Linked DNA regions of Homo sapiens: region 1 is linked to region 2. The links are contacts of gene promoters, found by promoter capture Hi-C in human tissues and cell types (Jung and others, 2019). All regions are on one chromosome and are shown on one strand. Each heading gives the region's core, a stretch centred on a gene start or on the middle of the fragment in contact. The rest is flanking DNA. Distances are from core to core; before and after follow the strand shown.

Region 1 (2,700 bases), core at 198-2,697, 110 kb after region 2:
TGTCAATCAAGAAGAGGTGAAAGACCAGACTGCAAAGCAGTAAAGCCAGGCATTTGTTGGGGTCTTCAGAATTGCAATTCGGGAGACACAGATTCAGCTCCAAGCCAAACTGTTCTGAAGAGAGGGAAGGGAGTACGGTTTTTTAAAGGAAGCTGAGGATGATTACCCAAGTTATTTTGAAAGAATTCTCACTGGTGGAGGTGGCTGGCTTAGTATGTGTGTCTATAGTTCATTGGTTGTTGCTGTTCAGGAGTTGCTGCGCTGGTGAAGTTAAGCTGTTTTCCAGGATATTTACATTCATGATCATTACAATTTGGGCCAATTCAAAGGTTCGAAGCAAGTTTCTGCCTTTTTTTTTTTTTTTTTTTGCTGGGTTGCAGGTTATGCAGGAAGTCCTTCTTAAAATGGCTTCCTGATGCCATTTTATAGCTCTGAACCAGAGTGATGCCATTTTGTATATCACATTTCACATTTCTGCCCTATTGATCCAGATAGGGGATGAGGAAGCATCACTGATCAATGATTGGTGGTCAGCCACAGAGTTATTATCTGTTTCCCTCAGAGCTGGAAGCATCTGTTTCTAAAGTGTTATGTCCCATGGAGGGGGGTTGTTGAAAGTCAGTGTGCATCCAAGACTTCAGAGATTGGCCAAATTTGAGTAACAAAGGAGCTGTCATAAATAAGGAGGGCTGCATCAGTCTATGGTGGTTAGCTGTATATTGGGAGAGACACACATCTGATTAACTATGTCTAAATGTTGTAATATCATGATCTTAACATCCTGGATAGTCTGGCAGCAATGAGAAATATAGATGGTACAAGTTGTTAAAAGAAAAACTTTAGACAAATTAAACTTAACAGAGTTTAATTACACAGACAATGTTTCATGAATCTGGCAGCCGCCAGAACCAGAATAGGTTCAGAGTAACAACAACACTGGGGCAGCCACATGGTCAAATAACATTTATGGACAGAAAAAGGAAAGTGACATATAGAAAACAGAAGTGAGGTACGGAAATAGCTGGATTGGTTACAGCTTGACATGTGACTTAATTTGAACACACTTTGAACAACAGTTAGTTGCCTGTGATTGGCTGAGACTAGGCTACTTGTTAAAAGAGTAGGTTACAATCTGTTTACATATCCAGTTAGGTTACAGTTCACTCTCTATGGAGCAACCTTTAGGCTATACTCAAAATACATAAGAAGGCAGCTTTAGGCAAAACTTTTAACAATTTAAAAATTTAACAATTCTCCCCCTTTAGGCTAATTTCTTAATTTTTGAGAGATTGACAAAAACTTTAGGCATTGACATTATGCTCTCACCATTGTAAATGGACTTTGGGCTCAAATCTCTCTTTAAGACAGGGTCTTTCTATGTTGCCCAGGCTGGAGTGCAGTGGCATGATCTCAGCTAACTGCAACCTCCACCTCCTGGGCTCAAGCAATCCTCCCACCTCAGCCCCTGCAGTAGCTGGGACTATACGTGCATACCATCATGCCTGGGTAATGTTTGTGTATTTTGTAGAGATGGGGTTTTGCCGTGTTGCCCAAGCTGGAGGGTTACTTTTTGTTAAGGGTTAGAGCAGAGGAGCCTTCTTATTATGATAGAATCTCTTTTTTTCAGACTTGTTAGGTCTTGGGTTCCCTTGACTGCAGTTTCCAAAAGAGCAGAGAAGTATCCTGCTCACAGTACCAAAACTGTATGGGCAAAAGGGAAACTTCCCCTTTGCTCTTTGAAAGTTTGCTGAAAATCAACAGACAAAAGGCAGATTAATAGGAGAAAAGGCAGATTTATTAATGTGTGTGTGTGCATGTGTGTGGGAACCAGAGTGTCACTGAAGCTGCTACATTGTCTGGGGTATATACCCTGGGTTTCGATGTTGCGAGCCAGGAAAATTTAGGACACGGACACACCCGAGGAGTTTAGGAGCAGACGTTTAAAAGGCAGAAGAGAAGAGAAAGAGATACAGCTCTCTCTATAGAGAAAGGGGTCTCCTAGTGCAAAGGACCAGCTGATGGTGAATGTGCCAGATTTTATAGTCCAGTTTGAGGAAGTGGTGTCTGATTTACATAGGACTCACAGATTGGTTCCATCAGGTATGACGTTTACATATTGCATAGGGAAGGCTGGTTGCCCCATCCTAATCTTATTACGCAAATGGGCTTTCCAGTTGACCGGCACCATCTTATCTGCTCCTTACAGTACATGTGGCCGAGAAAGAGAAGGGAAGATGGAGTTGCCATCTTGAACATGTCTGGTTCCTAGTTCCTGCCAGTATTCACCTGTGCAAGCTCCCAGCTCAACCTTACAGGCTGCTCTTTGTTAGAAAATGATTTGGGGCTGCTTTTCATTGAAAAGAAAAGCTTTACTGAAGACTCCCATATCCTTACTATCTGCCTAAGTGATTTCTTCTTAACTCCTGTATCGTCATTACCCCATATCCCAACAGGGTACAGAAGCTTGTATCACATTTTTCATAGGTGAGGAAAAAGGTGGCGGATGTAGACAATTCTTTTGAGGTGCAGGCAGTGATCATTAGAATAAATGGATGAGGGAGATAGAAATTAACTTATAGATGATTCTCTTTGGAATCTGAATGAGCCTGAGAGGCAGGCAGGCATTATCTTGTGACAAAGTCCATGTTGGTGTGGTTGCATTCCTCACTTTCTTTTCTGATCAAGATAATGATATTTCAG
Region 2 (2,700 bases), core at 110-2,609:
GCACGTGCTGTTCCACTGCACTAATTACTCTTCTCCATTCTTTACCCATCTCTTCAAGACTTGTTCAGGGAACATAAGTGACCCTCTAGCCTTGCTCACCATCCCACAATGCCTGCTCTCAGCAGCATATAGTTCTTTTCATAGCCCTGTATTATAGTTTGTATCTTTACCAGTGTGATTGTTAGATTCTGCCTCCCTACCAAATTCTAAGCTCTAGGGGAATAGGCACGGTGCCAGTCTAGCCCTGTGCCTGCAGTGCCAGAGCAATCCCTTCTGAATGAAAGAATAGCCACCGTTCCAGTACAGCTGCAGACCCAGGAACCTCCACAGCCTCTGGGAGGGCTGTGAGCTAGAAGGGTGACCACGACATGTATTCTTCAAAGCCTACCACTTCTGCGAGCGAAAAGGGGCACTCTTCACACTTAGGAGTTGCCTGGTTACACTCCCAGCCCTGAATAACAGGCTGTGCCTGCCGGCCACAGGAGCAAGGCGAAGACGAGTCTAACTAGAAGGGGATGGGCTACAACATTTTGGGGGAATAGGGAGAGGGTAATTTAAATTTTGCTTAACTGTCCCTGCATTTAAACTGTTGTCTTCTACATCATGTATTCATTTGTACATTCGTTTGTCCCCCCTCTAGAATGTAAGCTCAGAGGGCGGGGCTTGGCCTGTTTGTTCATTGCTATATCCCACGCTAAGTGCCTGGCGCATAGTAGACGCTCAATAAACATCTGAATGAATGTACTCACAGCTGAGTGTTATGCCCCAAGTGAATAAAGGATGAAGAATCATATAATACTTAAAAATCCAACAGGCCAGGCGCGGTGGCTCACACCTGTAATCCCAGCACTTTGGAAGGCCGAGGCGGGAGAGGCTTGAGCCCAGGAGTTTGAGACCACCTGGGCAACACAGCGAGACCCCGTCTCTATTAAAAAAACAAATCCGAACAAAACCGAGACCTCACAGTTGGAAAGCCGAAGGCTCAAGACCAGAGGGGCAGGAGGCCTACCAACTGCCAAGGTCCTGCGCTCAGGACGATGCGCTGAGGGCCGCGGAGGCTGAGCGGGGGCGCGGTTGAAAGCGGCTCTCACTGACCCCACCTCCGCCCAGCCGCAGCCCCGCCACCACCTCTGGGTCCTCTAACCCCCGGCGTCCCCGCCGCGGCCTCAAGCCCCCTCTTGGCCTCCGCCCTCCTGACATACACTGGCCCTCGCCGCCCCCTCCCCAAATCCCGTCGCACTCCAGGACCCCCCATACCCGGATCCCATAGGGCCTGGGAACGGCCGCGCTCCTGTCTTCGGAATTCCCGCGGCCCCTGGGCCGCGCCGGCGCCGCCCCCGCCCCCGGCCCGTGCGTCCAGGCTGGCGCCGCGCTGCGCCCCCTCTGCGCCGGCCTCTGCGGCTGCGCGCTGGCGGGGCTGAGGCCGAGGGGTGGGGGTCGCGCCGGGGGCCGGCGGAGCTCCTGTGGTGGTAGCAGCGGTAGCGGGAGACGGAGCGAGTCCAGCGGCCGCGGGCAGACCCGGAGGGAACGGAGGAAGCGGTCATGTCTCGCTACACGAGGCCCCCCAACACCTCCCTGTTCATCAGGAACGTCGCGGACGCCACCAGGTGAACGGCCGCGGCTGCAGGTTGGGGGCGCGGAGGAGGGGCGGGGTAACAGCCGCGCCGCGGAGCACGGCCGAGGCCCGGCGGAGGCTCGGGGGAGCTGCGCGGAGCCTCCCCGCGGGCCCAGGCTGCGCCACTTGGGGAGGTGTGAGCCCTCGGACTACTCCGCGGCCCAGGGCGGAACTCGCGCCTCCGCCCTCCCGGCCAGCTTTCAGCCCCGGCGCCGCGCACATCGTGTCCCGGGCCCGCGTCGCTTTCCGCGGTTCAGCACCGCAGCCGGCGGGCCGTGGGACACGGGGCGCCCCTCTCCCGAGCTCAGGTCGCTCCCCGCCGGGAGTCGGGAGGGTTTGCGCTCCAGCGAGTGCCCGCGTTTCAGCTCCTTTGTCGCCGTGCCCCGATAAAATCGCGCGCATCCAACCCTCCTAGATGGAGAGGAATTGGGGCTGGTGAGAACGTTTTGTACCATAATGCGTACTCGGGCCTTACAGTTTCTTTCCCCCAGTTCTGGTCTACTTACAGACGGTGCTGCTTGCATTTTATTCACACAATTTTATTCTGCATACAAAAAATAACTTCAATGAATGAGATCAGTGCGTTTTTCTTTAAAGTTCTGAGTCCAGTATTAACACCCTTTTTAAGGGCGTGAGTATAGGCTCACCTGGTTGATTCTGATGCCCCACCCCTCCGTTGAGAATTTTGTCTACAGAGTGTCTGAACACAGATACTAAGGAATGACTTTTTCATATAGCACTTCCTTCCTTAATGGAGCTGAAGAAATTGGGGGCGGGGGGAGAGGGAACGGTGTTAATAGACATTCTCATTTCACTGGGCTTCATTTACTTCCCCCCAGCCTTTCTACCTATGCAGTACTGTTTTATTGTACATAAGGGAGAGCGGAAACTAAGAGTTTTAATGATTTACCTGGGGCCAGAGAGGTATAGATACATGGAGCTCTTGACTCCATAGTCATCTGAGATGAGTATTATAATTTACCTTTGAGGAGTAAATAAACGTTAAGTATTTTTTATTTTTTAGTTTTTTTTTTTTTTTTAGACAAAGTCTCGCTCTTGTCCCCCAGGCTGGAGTACAATGGCCC

Evidence for each region. Contacts are between HindIII fragments. The study calls those that stand out against the background at their distance.
Region 1: a contact is called between a fragment that was not itself captured here and the fragment with the promoter of SRSF12 in region 2, in 2 of the 25 tissues and cell types used here (aorta and liver).

The regions. Positions count from the first base shown.
Region 1 is chr6:89,009,355-89,012,054 of GRCh38, reverse strand. No RefSeq gene overlaps it. Among named protein-coding and RNA genes, the nearest start is that of RNGTT, 47 kb to the right of the region's middle. The HindIII fragment of the contact is 3,357 bases long and covers 1-2,700 here.
Region 2 is chr6:89,116,730-89,119,429 of GRCh38, reverse strand. It overlaps SRSF12 (serine and arginine rich splicing factor 12), which reads left to right and starts at 1,359. Exons shown (of 5, transcript NM_080743.5): 1 at 1,359-1,607. The coding sequence starts at 1,543. It also overlaps a transcript of PM20D2 not described here. RefSeq lists a silencer at 1,506-1,775. The HindIII fragment of the contact is 14,948 bases long and covers 1-2,700 here.